3 separate regions of the Homo sapiens genome follow, and all the other regions are linked to region 1. The links are contacts of gene promoters, found by promoter capture Hi-C in human tissues and cell types (Jung and others, 2019). All regions are on one chromosome and are shown on one strand. The core of a region is centred on a gene start or on the middle of the fragment in contact, and the rest is flanking DNA. Distances in the headings are between cores, read along the strand shown. Region 1 holds the start of ECM2 (extracellular matrix protein 2). Region 2 overlaps CENPP (centromere protein P). Region 3 overlaps CENPP (centromere protein P).

Region 1 (5,111 bases), core at 1,604-4,103:
AAATACAAAAAAAATTAGCTGGGTGTGGTGGCACGCGCGTGTAGTCCCAGATACTCAGGAAGCTGAGGCAGGAGAATCACTTGAACCCGGGAGGTGGAGGTTGCAGTGAGCCGAGATCACACCACTGCACCCCAGCCTGGGCGATAGAGTGAGACTCGGTCTCAAACAAAAAAAAAAAAAAAAAAAAAAAAAATATATATATATATATATATATATATATATGCTTTGGGTCCACTTCACTTTTCCTACCATCCCCCACTGCTTGCTTGCCTCCATTTTGTTTGTTTGTTTGTTTCTCTCTGTCCTCCTGAGGCTGTTTTAAAACTCTATTAATCTTCTCAACCACCTCTTCTGGAATCCAGATGCTTCTAGAAGAAAAACTGTTCTAAACCTCTCTGGGTTTCAGTCCCATCCCAAATATTGGCCCTGTTGTTTTTCTCACCCTTTCTAGTTATTCTCAGCAGGTCTAATGATCTGACTTGCCTTGTCTGCCATTATCAGAAGGAGAAGCTCCCTCAGATTCCTTTTATTTCTTGCAGAAATATATCCTCTTTTTCTCAGAGAATGTTGTAAGTTGTAAAATTCTGTGCTCTTATTAAAGATCTGAAAATGTCATTGTTTAATTGGAAACAGAATTACGGTTTCAAAATCATTCTAATCATTTTTCTTTAATACCTTATAGATATTTGTCCATTATTTCTTATATTTAGTGTTGCCGATGAGAAATTTGACTTGAATCTGATTCTCATCCCTTTGTAAGAAATTTTTTTTCTTTCTATAGAAATTTTTTTCAAATTTTCAACATATCTTTGATATTTGGAAGTTTTACCTTGGTAAAAGAATGGAATGTACCTTGGTATAGGTTGTTTTTGCTGTTTAATGTATCCTTCTTGGGATCTTTTAAACTAAAAACTTCTTTTTTTCCTATACAAGCTCTCTTCACTCTGTTTTCTCCCATGACTGTTCAAGGGTACATTTTTCCTCTTTAAATTCATTTCTGTCTTCTCTTTGTCTGTGAAGGACTCCTCAGAGTGTCTGTCCCACCAGGAGCTCCCCTTTTTATTTCCTAGTGTAGCTGTATATTCGTGCATTTATTTGTCTGTAATATATCTTGTATTATTTCAAGGGAGTTGGTGAGAGGGGAAGAGGGCACAAGGTCAGCTCAGTTTCCCCTCTTGAATCTCAGTACTTCTTTTTATAACTTCATCTGCCAGAATCATCTTCCTCTAGTCAGGTTTCACTTAGTTAGTTCATAGTCTGACTTGCCACATCACCTTTGTTCAACAAACGGCAGTCTCTAAAGTATCTTCATGCCAGCATACAAACCTTTCTTCAGCGTATATATACATTAATTGCCACAGTCATTTGAAAACCATTACTATAGGTTATTGAAATGACCTATATTTCATAGGTTACTGGAACAACTTTTTGAACAACTTTTTGCAATCTACTTTAGTTTTAGAAAAATTAACATGCAGCATGTAAAGAAGGACCAAATCCATTAGCTGATTGGCACCTGAAATCATAAAAGTCAATTCAGAGAGCAAAGTAGTATGTTGGAAGGGAATAACAACAACAGCAGGGGAAAGCAATATGAAAACCTGAACTGAGAGACAAAGTGAAACTAGAATTTGCTGAGTGGCATGGCAAGTGTGCTCTGATGGATATCATAAGTGCTCTGCAATGCATGAAATGTATACATTGAAATTTTCTTGCATTAACAATTGTATGTGCAGACCTTCCATCCTGTTGTGAGGAGTCAGGGCCTAGACCTCGAGGCTCTAGAGTTAAACTCTCATGAGGGTCTCAGGCATCCTGCTGTCCTGAGGCATCCTGAAAGCACTCACTTATGGGGCATTGCCTGATTGAGTGCTTAGGAGTGTGAATGTGCCAGCTGTGGCCATTCTGAGCACACCCCTCTCTCCCAGTATCCTCATTCTGGAAACTACCTCTCTTTCTTTTTTTCCCCCAAATTGACTCACTTTTACTTACCCAGAAATCTAAATAGATAGGCACAGAAATAAACTTACAGAGCTATTTGAATTTTGACAAAATCAGTATCTAAACAGTCTCACTACAGTGTTTAAATACATTTTAGGAAATGGTCTCTCAATACTAATTTTACTATTAATGCTTAGGCCCTCATTATTTTCATTGATATACAGAATTTTGCTTTGCACTTAATATTTGCTTTCATAAACAACTTCGTAATTGAGTGTTTGCCTCCTAGAGGTAAATTTTCTGGGATTCCAATCATAGTATCATTTTTATCAAGTAATTTTTTTCCTTCTAGCACTTACTGTGTTTATCCCAACATTAAATATTATTTATAAACCTTGATTAACTTATTTTTCTTCATTTAAAATTTCTTACCAGTTATCTTAAGTAAACTTTAAAAATATTAATTTAGAATTTTAAAATTCTACATGAAGTCATGAGATGTCTATTATCTATTTTCACTTCATTCAACAGATTTAAAATGAAAAATATTTTGAATTATTTATGTTCTTTTAGGACTTAAAAATTAATAATATTTTCAAACCAATTTATACTTCTATTGAACACATAATTCCACCTAAACATATAAAAATAATTTAATACTAAGTATACAAGGTCTGAAATACTTGGGAAGTACATCGTGAAAAAAACAAACAGAATAATGCATACTTTGAACTTTAAAAATCTATTAGTAACGAGCTAATTTACTCAAGAGTTAAACAGTTGTGAAATAAAATACCCAAATATTAAAACCATTCCACATGCTAAGTAGAAACTTAAAATTTAAAACTTTTTTACCTGGAGATCTAAACTAAGTAGGCTTTGCTTGGTGTCATTTAAGTCTCCAGCTGAAAATGAAACAAAATCAGAGCTTTCTTTAAAAACAAAGAAAGGACAGAAGGGAATGTTGAAAAGTATTTGCTGAACTTCTTAGTAAAATCTAAAATAACTGCCTCCCTTGGGGATAAATGCCTTTCAGTTCTTTGTGCAGAAAATCAGCCAAGAAAGTAACCAGGGAAAATGGTTACCAAGGGAAATATTTTTTTTAATCATAAGAAAAGTAGAAAACAGCAGTGGGTGTGGGGGAAGAGCATTTTGTTTGCAGGCTGAAAAGGCAGAGTTGGAAACACAAAAATGAGCTTGATTAAGAAATCTGTGGTTTTCATAGACTATTCGCATTAAAAATGTTAAAGTTTATACTAGCCAGGATGATGTCACTTGAGCTTTATCAGATTATAGGGATGATATTCTCGTCAGCTAAAGGCTGTGTATATCTGGAATCTATTTTAAATTGGATTAATAATATTTAACTCATCTGCCCACCCACCTCGATCTCACACACAATACTAACAAAACGACAACAACAAAAAAATGGTTACGTATTAATATCAGTGGAAATTATGTAACTTCTAACCATGAAATAATAGAAAGAAAATGTGAAAGGGAGCTGTGTGGCTCCTAATTACCTGTTACGCTGGCAAATTAGTTGTGTACTTTGGCCTCAGTTTCTTTATCTGCAAATGAGAAGTTAGAGACAGATCAGGATTCCAAGCGCAACCCTGCTGTTTATGAGGGACCTTGAGTAAGTTACTTAATGTTTCTGACCAAAGTTCACTCTTCTGTAAAACTAGGGTGATACCTTTCAAATTTTTCTGAAAATAAAAGGAATAACAGATATGAAGGTCCTAACTCAGTGCCTATCCTAGACTAGGTAATTTTAGAACTATTTTTTAAATTTTTTTTTTTTTTTTGAGACGGGAGTTTTTGCTCTGTTGCCCAGGCTAGAGTGCAATGTCGTGATCTCAGCACACTGAAACCTCCGCCTCCCAGGTTCAAGGGATTCTCCTGCCTCAGCTTCCCGAGTAGGTGGGCTTAAAGGCGCCTGCCACCATGCCAGATTAATTTTTGTATTTTTTTTTTTAGTAGAGATGGGGTTTCACCATGTTGGCCAGGCTGGTCTCGAACTCTTGACCTCATGTGATCCACCCACCTCGGCCTTCCAAAGTGCTGGGATTACAGGCATGAGCCACCGCACCTGGCCTGAAATTCTTATATCGTTATTTCAGGGGTCCAAATCATTTGGCAAAGAGGAGCTAAATATTTGTTTAAATGACGTGGTTAGACTGAATCAGGATTTTGTAAAATGACCTAGATAGACTGAATCAAGATAAGGGACTAAATACATAAGCCACTCAACTTCCTAAAAATAAGGAAAATGATATCTATTTTTAAAAATGTAAAACTAGCTGAGTGCAGTGGCTCACACCTGTAATCCCAGCACTTTGGGAGGCAGAGACAGGTGGATCACCTGAGGTTAGGAGTTTGAGACCAGCCTGGCCAACATGTGAAACCCCGTCTCTACTAACAGTACAAAAATTAGCCGAGTATGGTAGCACATGCCTGTAGTCCCAGCTACTCAGGAGGCTGAGGTAGGAGAATCACTTGAACCTAGGAGGCGGAGGTTGCAGTGAGCCAAGATTGTGCCATTGCACTCCAGCCTGGGCAACAGAGCGAGACTACATCTCAAAAAAGAAAAGAAAAGAAAAGAAAAAGATGAGTACAAATGAGCAAACACCATTAAACAGGCAGTTCATAGAAGAGGAAATGTCAGTGGTCAATAAAACAGAAGAGGAAGATTTCTCAATCTCAGTAACAGTCAAGAAAAGTAAATTAAAACAGGAAGGTTATTTTTTCACTACCATAGTGAGATGTTGCTGACAAAACTTTGGGGGTAGAAAAATTACCCAAATAATGCCAATGCTCAATCAAGCTTGAAGACCACTGCTAATCAAAAATCATGGCCTGATTTGAAATACATACATTGTTTTTTGGGGGAAAAAAATGTTGATGATATGCTGTGTTGGCCAGTGTGTAGGGAAAACAGAAACTCTCCTCTTCCTTGAGGACAGCTGAACAGTAGCTATGCTGTCTGTCCTACCATTTCACCTCTAGGAACCCATTGTAGAAACACCTCTTTCTGTACAAAAGTGTGCCTTCAAGGAAGTACTCTGAAGTACTGTAACCATGGATTAGAAAAAAAGTTAACCCAGTTGTGTATAGATAGAGAACAAAGTGGGCTTACCATAAAGCTATTTGGAGAAACAGAAGTAACT
Region 2 (5,111 bases), core at 1,548-4,047, 38 kb after region 1:
GGTTGTTCAGTTTCCATGTAGTTGAGCGGTTTTGAGTGAGTTTCTTAATCCTGAGTTCTAGTTTGATTGCACTGTGGTCTGAGAGACAGTTTGTTATAATTTCTGTTCTTTTACATTTGCTTAGGAGTGCTTTACTTCCAACTATGTGGTCAATTTTGGAGTAAGTGCAATTTGGTGCTGAGAAGAATGTATATTCTGTTGATTTGGAGTGGAGAGTTCTGTAGATGTCTTTTAGGTCTGCTTGGTGCAGAGCTCAGTTCAATTCCTGGATATCCTTGTTAACTTTCTGTCTGATTGATCTGTCTAATGTTGATAGTGGGGTGTTAAAGTCTCCCATTATTATTCTGTGGGAGTCTAAGTCTCTTTGTAGGTCTCTAAGGGCTTGCTCTATGAATCTGGGTGCTCCTGTATTGGGTGCATATATATTTAGGATAGTTAGCTCTTCTTGTTGAATTGATCCCTTTACCATTATGTAATGGCCTTCTTTGTCTCTTTTGACCTTTGTTGGTTTAAAGTCTGTTTTATCAGCAACTAGGATTGCAACTCCTCTTTTTTTTTTTTTTTTTGTTTTCCATTTGCTTGGTAGATCCTTCTCCATTCCTTTATTTTGAGCCTATGTGTGTCTCTGCACATGAGATGGGTCTCCTGAATACAGCACACAGATGGGTCTTGACTCTTTATCCAATTTGCCAGTCTGTGCCTTTTAATTGGAGCATTTAGCCCATTTACATTTAAGGTTAATACTTTTATGTGTGAATTTGATCCTGTCATTATGATGTTAGCTGGTTATTTTGCTGGTGAGTTGATGCAGTTTCTTCCTAGCATTGATGGTCTTTACAATTTGGCACGTTTTTGCAGTAACTGGTACCGGTTGTTCCTTTCCACATTTAGTGCTTCCTTCAGGAGCTCTTGTAAGGCAGGCCTGGCAGTGACAAAATCTCTCAGCATTTGTTTGTCTGTAAAGGATTTTATTCCTCCTTCACTTATGAAGTTTAGTTTGGCTGGATATGAAATTCTGGGTTGAAAATTCTTTTCTTTAAGAATGTTGAATATCGGCCCCCACTCTCTTCTTGCTTGTAGAGTTTCTGCCGAGAGATCCGCTGTTAGTCTGATGGGCTTCCCTTTGTGGGTAACCCGACCTTTCTCTCTGGCTGCTCTTAACATTTTTTCCTTCATTTCAGCTTTGGTGAATCTGACAATTATGTGTCTTGGAGTTGCTCTTCTCGAGGAGTATCTTTGTGGCGTTCTCTGTATTTCCTGAATTTGAATGTTGGCCTGCCTTGCTATGTTGGGGAAGTTCTCCTGGATAATATCCTGCAGAGTGTTTTCCAACTTGGTTCCATTCTCCCCGTCACTTTCAGGTACACCAATCAGATGTAGATTTGGTCTTTTCACATAGTCCCATATTTCTTGGAGGCTTTGTTCATTTCTTTTTATTCTTTTTTTCTCTAAACTTCTCTTCTCACTTCATTTCATTCATTTGATCTTCAATCACTGATACCCTTTCTTCCACTTGATCAAATCGGCTACTGAGGCTTGTGCATGTGTCATGTAGTTCTTGTGCCATGGTTTTCAGCTCCATCAGGTCATTTAAGGTCTTCTCTATGCTGTTTATTCTAGTTAGCCATTCGTCTAATCTTTTTTTCAAGGTTTTTAGCTTCTTTGCGATGGGTTCGAACATCCTCCTTTAGCTCAGCAAAGTTTGTTATTACCAGTCGTCTGAAGCCTTCTTCTCTCAACTCGTCAAAGTCATTCTCCGTCCAGCTTTGTTCCCTTGCTGGCGAGGAGCTGCGTTCCTTTGGAGGAGAAGAGGCGTTCTGATTTTTAGAATTTTCAGCTTTTCTGCTCTGGTTTCTCCCCATCTTTGTGGTTTTATCCACCTTTGGTCTTTGATGATGGTGACGTACAGATGGGGTTTTGGTGTGGATGTCCTTTCTGTTTGTTAGTTTTCCTTCTAACAGTCAGGACCCTCAGCTGCAGGTCTGTTGGAGTTTGCTGGAGGTCCACTCCAGACCCTTTTTGCCTGGGTATCACCAGCGGATGCTGCAGAACAGCAAATATTGCAGAAGGGCAAATGTTGCTGCCTGATCCTTCCTCTGGAAGCTTTGTCTCAGAGGGGCACTGGGCTGTATGAGGTGTCAGTCGGCCCCTACTTGGAGGTGTCTCCCAGTTAGGCTACTCGGGGGTCAGGGACCCACTTGAGAAGGCGGTCTGTCCGTTCTCAGATCTCAAACTCCGTGCTGGGGGAACCACTGCTCTCTTCAAAGCTGTCAGACAGGGATGTTTAAGTCTGCAGAAGCTTCTGCTGCCTTTTGTTCAGCTATGCCCTGCCCCGAGAGGTGGAGTCTACAGAGGCAGGCAGGCCTACTGAGCTGCAGTGGGCTCCACCCAGTTCGAGCTTCCCGGCTGCTTTGTTTACCTACTCAAGCCTCAGCAATGGCGGATGCCTGTCCCCCAGCCTCGCGGCCGCCTTGCAGTTGGATCTCAGACTGCTGTGCTAGCAGTGAGCGAGGCTTCGTGGGCATGGAACCCTCTGAGCCAGGCGCGGGATGTAATCTCCTGGTGTGCCGTTTGCTAAGACCGTTGGAAAAGCATAGTATTAGAGTGGGAGTGTCCCGATTTTCCAGGTACCATCTGTCACAGCTTCCCTTGGCTAGGAAAGGGAATTCCTTGACCCCTTGCACTTACCAGGTGAGGCGATGCCCCACCCTGCTGCATGGGCTGCACCCACTGTCCGACAAGCCCTAGTGAGATGAACCCGGTACCTCAGTTGGAAATGCAGAAATCACCCGTCTTCTGCATCGCTCACGCTGGGAGCTATAGACTGGAGCTGTTCCTGTTCAGCCATCTTGGAACCTCCCCCCAGAATGTATTTTTTTTAATGATGTAACTATAGGCTGTCTACAAGTTAAATTATGTTTACAGATTATGTGATCTATATGTAAAAAACTAAGGATTCTACCCCCAAAAACCTGTGAAAACAAATAAATTCAGCAAAGTAGCAGAATACAAAGTGAACACACTAAAATTGGTTAGAAAAACAATAACAAAAATGGGTTGGATTTCTATACACTAACAGTGAACAATATCTGGAAAGGAAATTACAAAAACAATTTTGTTACAATAGCATAAAAAAAGAATAAAATACCTAGGAATTAACCAAGAAGGTGAAAGATTTGTACAATGAAAACTTCAAAACATTGCTGAAAGAAAATAAGACATAAATCAGTGGAAACACGTCCCAAATTCATGGATTGGAAGACTCTGTGTTAAGATGTCAGTACTACTCAAAGCAATCTACAGATTCAATGAAATCTCTATCAAAATTCCAGTGATGTTTTTCGCAGAAATAGAAAAACTCATTCTAGAATTCACATGGAATCTCAAGGGACCCTGAGTAGCCAAAACAATCTTCAAAAAGAACAAAGCTGGAGGACTCATTTCTTAATTTCAAAACTTACTACAAAGCTACAATAATCAAAACAATGTAGGACTGATTTAAAGACAGACATTGGCTAATGGAATAGAATACAGAGTCCAAAATGAACCCACCCGTACTTAGTCAAATGAATTTTGACTAATGTGCCAAGACCATTCAATGGGGAAATGACATTCATTTAACACATGGTGCCTGGAAATCTGGATATCCACATGCAAAAGTATGAAGTTGGAACCTTAGCTAACACCATATACAAAAATTAACTCAAAATGGATCAAAGACCTACATGTAAAACCTAAAAGTATAATAGTCTTAGAAAACAGGAAAAGCTTCACTACATTGGATTTGGCAAGTGATTTCTTAGATATGACAGCAAAGGTATAGTCAACTTAAGGAGAAGAGACAGATTGGACTTAGTGAAAATGTAAAAGTTTTGTGTACTAACAGACATTATGAACAGTGAAAAGGCAACTCACAAATAGGACAAAATTTTGCAAATCATGTATCTGATAAGGGATTATAATACAGAATATAAAGAGAACTCCTAAAACTCAACACCAAAACAACTCTGTTCAAAAATGGGCAAAGGACTTGAATAGACATTTCTCCAAGAACATATACACAAATGGCCATTAAGTACATGAAGAGATGCTCAACATCACTAATCATTAGGGAGCTACAAATTAAAATACAGTGAGATACCACCTCACACCCATTAGAATGTCTCCTATCCAGGCTGGGCGCGGTGGCTCACGCCTGTAATCTCAGCACTTTGGGAGGCCAAGGCAGGCAGATCACGAGGTCAGGAGTTCAAGACCAGCCTGGCCAACATGGTGAAACCCCGTGTCTACTGAAAGTACAAAAATTAGCTGGGCATGATGGCGTACACCTGTAATCCCAGCTACTTGTGGGGTTGAGACAGGAGAATTGCGTGAACCTGGGAGGTGGAGGTTGCAGTGAGCCGAGATTGCACCACTGCTCTCCAGCCTGGGTGACAGAGTGAGACTCCATTTCAAAAAAAAAAAGAATGTCTCCTATCCAAAAAACAGAAAATAACAAGCACTGGCAAGAAAGTAGAAAAATTAGAACCGTTGCGCGCTGTTATAGTAGGGATATAAAATGGTACAGCTGCTATAGAAAACAGCATAGCAGTTCCTAAGAAAATTAAAAATAGAATTACCATGTGATCCACTGATTTCACCTGAGGTACATGCCAGAATAACTGAAAGCAGAGTCTTCAGATATTTCTACCCCTATGTTCACAGCAGCATTATTCACCGTAGCTATAACATTGGAAGCAATCCAAGTGTTCATCAAAGGATAAATAGATAAACAAATGCAGTCTGTCCATATAATGGAATATTATTCAGCTTAAAAAGGAAGGAAATTCTGATATGTGCTACAAAATGGATGAAGTTTGTGGACATTATGCTAAGTGATATAGCCAGTCACAAAAAGACAAATACTGTATGATTTCACTTACATGAGGTACTTAGAGTAGTCTAAATAGGAGAGATTTAGGGTGGTTGCTAAAGGCAAAGGGAGGAAGGAATGGGGAGTCAGTGTTTAATAGGTGTCAAGTTTCGATTTTACAACAGGAAAACAGTTATGAAAATGGACAGTGGTGATGGTTGCACAACATTATGAATATATTTAATAGCACTAAACTTAA
Region 3 (5,111 bases), core at 1,260-3,759, 36 kb before region 1:
ATACCCCATAAGGTTTGGTTTTTTTGACCCCTCCAAATCTCATGTTGAAATTTGATCCCCAGTGTTGGAGGTGGTGCTTAATGGGAGGTGTTTGGGTCATGGGGGGCAAGTCACTCATGAATAGATTGATATCCTCTCTAGGATCAGGGGAGTGAGTAAGTTCTTGTTCTATTAATTCCCATAAGAGCTGGTTGTTTAAAAAAAAAAAAAAAAAAAGAAGTCTGGCACCTCCCCATTCTTTTTTGCCTCCTCTCTTGCCATGTAATCTCTACACACTCCATCTCCCCTTCCACCATGAGTGGAAGCAGCCTGAAGGCCCTCACCAGATGCAGATGCCAGTGCCGTGCTACTTGCACAGCCTGAAGAACCATGAGCCAAATAAACCTTTTCTCTTTATAAATTACCCAGCCTTGGGCATTACTTTATAGCATCAGAATTGGACTAAGACATATATAGAGAGAAAACTGCCCTTTTGTGTAATAATTTGTATAATAATTATGGATGGGGATGGGGAAATATGTATATGTATGTAGGCTTTTGTTTGCAAAAATAAATACTGGAAGGATAAACTAGAAATTTAAAAATTTAACCTATGGGAAGGATCATATAGTGTATAAAAGACAATCATAGACGTTGGGGGAGGGATAGCATTAGGAGGTATACCTAATATTAAATGAAGAGTTAATGGGTACAGCACACCAACATGGCACATGTATATATATGTAACAAACCTGCACGTTGTGCACATGTACCCTAAAAGTATAGTAAAAAGAAAATATATATATATTAAAAAAAGACAATCATAGAAGTAAGACTTCTCTTAATTCAACTTCTTACACAGTTTTGACTTTGGAATTAAAAATATTTAACACAGTCAAAAATAATATTAATTCAAAAAGAAAAGAGCAATTTCTAAAAACCAAAAATAAACTAAATAACATGTCTGAATATTAAGTTGTTGACATATTACAGAGGAAACCACTGTATTTCAGCTGTACTTCTTTAGTGGAACTTATCCTAAAGACAAATAGAGCTACCAAAAAATAATAAACTTCAAGCTTTTATTATGAGCAGTAATAATGATGTCATTTTGAAACAATTGTTTACATATTGTAAGATCATCCAAGTTAATATTGTTGGGAACCTAGATTTTCAGTGTAAGAGAAACAAGTTTTAATAAAAGGAATTAATATTCAATTATGTTAAATTTGATTTGGGAATGTCAGTCTGAACTTACTTTCTTTTCAAAATACGGAATTTCCTGGCAGTCCACTGAAAGGCCTCAAAACAATAGCAACACAATTGAAAGGACCACGTCTCGTTCCCACTTGGGGCTTCTCAATACTATTCCCCAAAGAAAGAGGCCAAGCTCTTTGGAGGAAGGTCTGCAGTAGGTAATGCAGAAAGTAAGCCTGAGGCCCACGTGTGCCCAAAAGCAAGTGAGCAGACACAAGAGCCAGTTTGAATGGCGACCATTGTCCAGATGACTGCAATTGATTGAAACATAACTGCTTACATGAAAGCCTAAGTATATATTGATTCACCAGAAAAAGAGAGAACCCTAAAACAAAATAAAGCAAAAACATTCAGGCTCCAACTTCTTACTCCCACTGGTGGTTTAAAGGAAAGAACTGAGCTTTTTTCTTTCCTTTCAAAGTGACAAAGCAGCCCTAGTTGATGAGCAAAAAATTTTTTACAGAGGAATTCCAGCTAATGAGCATGAGAAGCATGGCAAAAATAGAAATTCATCATTTTGTTACCTCTAATGAAATAAGAATTCAAACAACATTCATCTGTGAGTGAAACCATTGGTTCAATGATGGAGGAGTAAATTTGTCTTAGGAGATACCAGGCTGTGACCACTTCAATCCAGTGATCAATTTTAGAATCAAAAAAGGTGGGACAAACATTAGACGCCTTCTGATGCAATGCAGTATGAAGCATATGGCACAACCTGTGAAGTATTTTTGCCAAAAAATTTTGAAACTGAATTTTACAAAGTCTTCCCAAACCCCCATCTCTTCCTCCAGTACCTTTAAAAACACGAACTTTTCTGTGTTTTTGTTTTGTCTTTGTAGGCATTTAGTTTATTTGGACTTTTAGAGAAGGGGAAAGACTAAGAGGCATAATTCTCAGGGACAGAACAACAAGGTTATTGTCTCCCTCACTGCCAATGATAAAGACCTTACTAACAAAATATTCTGGATTAATTCTCAAGACACTCATGCCATCTAGGCAGGAGTGATGATTCAGTATATAAGCTGAACACATGCAGAAAAATGTGTTCCCAAAAGTAGGGAAAGTGAGTCTTAATAAATGTATTCAGAAATCTGACTTCAGAAAAAACTAGATAGAAGCAGTTTTAATTTTAGCATATATTTACGTTTTATGCTTTATAGATTAGTTTTATTTATTTATACATGGAGGTAGGAGTAGTAACATAATCTATTGCTTTGAAGACTCATTTGAACCTCTCTCTAAAGTTCTAAGTGTTATATATAATAATCTGTTAATCTTTTTTTTGAGATGGAGTCTCACTCTGTCACCCAGGCTGGAGTGCAGTGGCACCATCCCGGCTCACTGCAACCTCTGCCTCCCAGGTTCAAACAATTCTCCCACCTCAGCCTCCTGAGTAGCTGGCATTACAGACACGCACCACCACGCCCTGCTAAGTTTTGTATTTTTAGTAGAAACGAGGTTTCACCATGTTGGCCAGGCTGGCCTCAGACTCTTGAACTCAGGTGATCCGCCCGCCTTGGCGTCCCAAAGTGCTGGAATTACAGGCGTGAGCCACTGCACCTGACCAAAAGATGTTTTAACTATGGAAATTTATAAACATGTGCAAAAGTAGGAAAAGCTTATAATGAATCCTCACATACCTGTCATCCACCTTTGGTAATTACTAACATTTGCCAATCTTGTTTAATCCAACCCCTTAGCACCATTTTTTTTTCCCTTAACGTAAATCCCAGAGATCATGTCATGGTTGTTTTATCATATATTTTGCCAACCAAAATTTAAACAGATACTTGAAAAAGCCAAAATTTACCGTATCTTGTTGTTGTTCAGCCTCAGAAAATGTAGTGCTTTCATTTCTTGTATCCCAGGTGGTATAGATTTTAAGTCATTGTGATCCAGAAATAATTCTCTCAGAGAATGATATGCCCCATAGAAGGAGACACGGTCCATGCCATCATCAGCAAGTTTGTTAAATGACAGGTACAAGTATTCCAGGCCTGGTTCCATGTGGCCAAACACATAGCCAGGGATCCGTTCAATCTGGTTCCCAAGGAGTACTAGGTGCAGCAAGGACTTGGGTAGATAGGACGGGACGTGATAGAGCTTGTTGTAGGAGAGATCAATGGATTCTAGATTTCTGCAGCAAAGAAAAAAGTAAACAGGGTAGGGACATCAGGATGGTGATCATCAGCTCTAAATTTTGATAAGGCCAGTCTCGATGCTGGTCCATTTTCCTATAAGCACCCAGTTTGTAGTGATGATTCCAAATAGGAACTTTTCCAGGTATAGCCAGCCCTAGTCTCTTGCACCAAGCTGCATGTCCTTACCAGGGTGCCATACTGCCTCCCAGCTATGTGAGTCCATGCGAGAGGAGCATCAAAGACTAGGAGGGAAAAACTCATATCCCTAGAGGCAATACTGAGGCCCAAAGACTAAAATATCTGTACGGTTGATGCGTTGAATCCAAAATGAAATCCCGTGAATCCCAGCATGCATCTAAATGCCTATCTGTAAAGTTGTCTCTGGTTCCAGCAAGGAAGTTTGGTTTGTTTTGGCTTGTTTTGGTTCCCCTTCCCCTACATTTTCATTCCACATTTGATTTGATGACCTGGCACACCTGGGACTTGAGGCGAGCCTGAGGGAATCTAGAAAATGCTGTTAATCATCTAGAAGATCTGGGGAACGTGGTGAACTCACTGGCTTGTTTCAGGAACCCCACCTGAGTCTCCTAAGGCTTCTGCCCCACGCCCTCTTTTCACCTGATGAAGACTTCTCTGCCTACAGTGGGCTCAGTGCCACATGCTGCTGAGCCCAATTGGCCTCTCCATCCTGCTTCTGAATGACACGTGTCCCAGGCTGTGCTACTTAGGCACATAGTTCCAGGACACGCAATCCCAGATCCCAGTTGTCTGCTGGATTTGCTGCAGGGCTTGCTTCTGACTCCCTCCCCCTTCACTGAAAGCTATAGCCAGAGGCTGCTGATTCTTGTCCAGGAAGACAGAGTCTACTTTTGGCCTGCACTGTTAGGCCAAGCATTCTTCAGTCTATTTTGTAAGAGTTGAGGTGAAGAAATAGTTTGGAGAAAAGAAGGCTGTGTAGTGTAGGAGAACAGGCCTGGGCTCTGGAGCCTGGTGCTTCCACCTAATGATGATGAGGAGAAGGAGTATGGCAGATTTCTTTCTCACTGTGTGCAGGGGAATAATCCTTCATTCAAACCTCCTGACAACCTGTGAGGTAGACAGAGCTAGAGTGGCATTTGACCACTAGTGGGCAGACCTCGAAGTCAGACAGCTGGGGCTCAGTTCTTGCTAGCTCAGCACTTGGCATATGATAGGGTGTCCAGTATGCAGTATGGTGACAACAACAGTAGTTACTGCAATAATCCTAACACCAGTCATGCAGCGCACAGGTTGGAAACTGCATGAAGTAGCCCACTTTGGGGATAGGGTAAGGGTTCACTAAGAAACGATTCTGTCTCCGAGCCCTTCAGTATCGTCACCTCCCTCACTTATCCCATTCCCAGTTTCCATACTCTGTTTAATAATAGCGAGAGGAAGAAATAGTTCAATAAAATTTAAATTGTAGCATGTACTTACTCTTGATTTATCCAGGCTAAAGGAGCAATCCTATTTTCTTCAATTTTGTTATAACGTAGTACAATGACATTGATCTTTCTGGTATGATTGAAACAAATTTCAGTTATTTCTTCAATTTGGTTATTTTCTAGGTATAATTCCTATAATTAAGAGAGAAGACTATTATTTTTCTTTTGTGTTAGTTGATACGTTCAATTTCATGGAGACTAAAATAGTGACATAGACTATTATCATTAGTATTATCTAAAGAGTCTTACTGCTCTTTCAAGTAAGCTC

The links. The method cuts DNA at HindIII sites, captures the fragments that hold promoters and counts their contacts. A contact is called where the count stands out against the background at its distance.
Region 2: a fragment that was not itself captured here is called in contact with the fragment with the promoter of ECM2 in region 1 in 3 of the 25 tissues and cell types used here (aorta, heart left ventricle and hippocampus).
Region 3: a contact is called between a fragment that was not itself captured here and the fragment with the promoter of ECM2 in region 1, in 2 of the 25 tissues and cell types used here (aorta and heart left ventricle).

What each region holds. Positions count from the first base shown.
Region 1 is chr9:92,533,137-92,538,247 of GRCh38, forward strand. It overlaps ECM2 (extracellular matrix protein 2), which reads right to left and starts at 2,854. Exons shown (of 10, transcript NM_001393.4): 1 at 2,797-2,854. All of the region lies in intron 5 of CENPP (centromere protein P), which reads left to right. The HindIII fragment of the contact is 14,623 bases long and covers 1-5,111 here.
Region 2 is chr9:92,571,359-92,576,469 of GRCh38, forward strand. The region is part of intron 5 of CENPP (centromere protein P); the gene reads left to right. Among named protein-coding and RNA genes, the nearest start is that of ECM2, 38 kb to the left of the region's middle. The HindIII fragment of the contact is 4,400 bases long and covers 598-4,997 here.
Region 3 is chr9:92,497,678-92,502,788 of GRCh38, forward strand. The region is part of intron 5 of CENPP (centromere protein P); the gene reads left to right. ECM2 (extracellular matrix protein 2) reads right to left here. Exons shown (of 10, transcript NM_001393.4): 8 at 4,836-4,975; 9 at 3,050-3,376. Among named protein-coding and RNA genes, the nearest start is that of ASPN, 18 kb to the left of the region's middle. The HindIII fragment of the contact is 6,472 bases long and covers 1-5,111 here.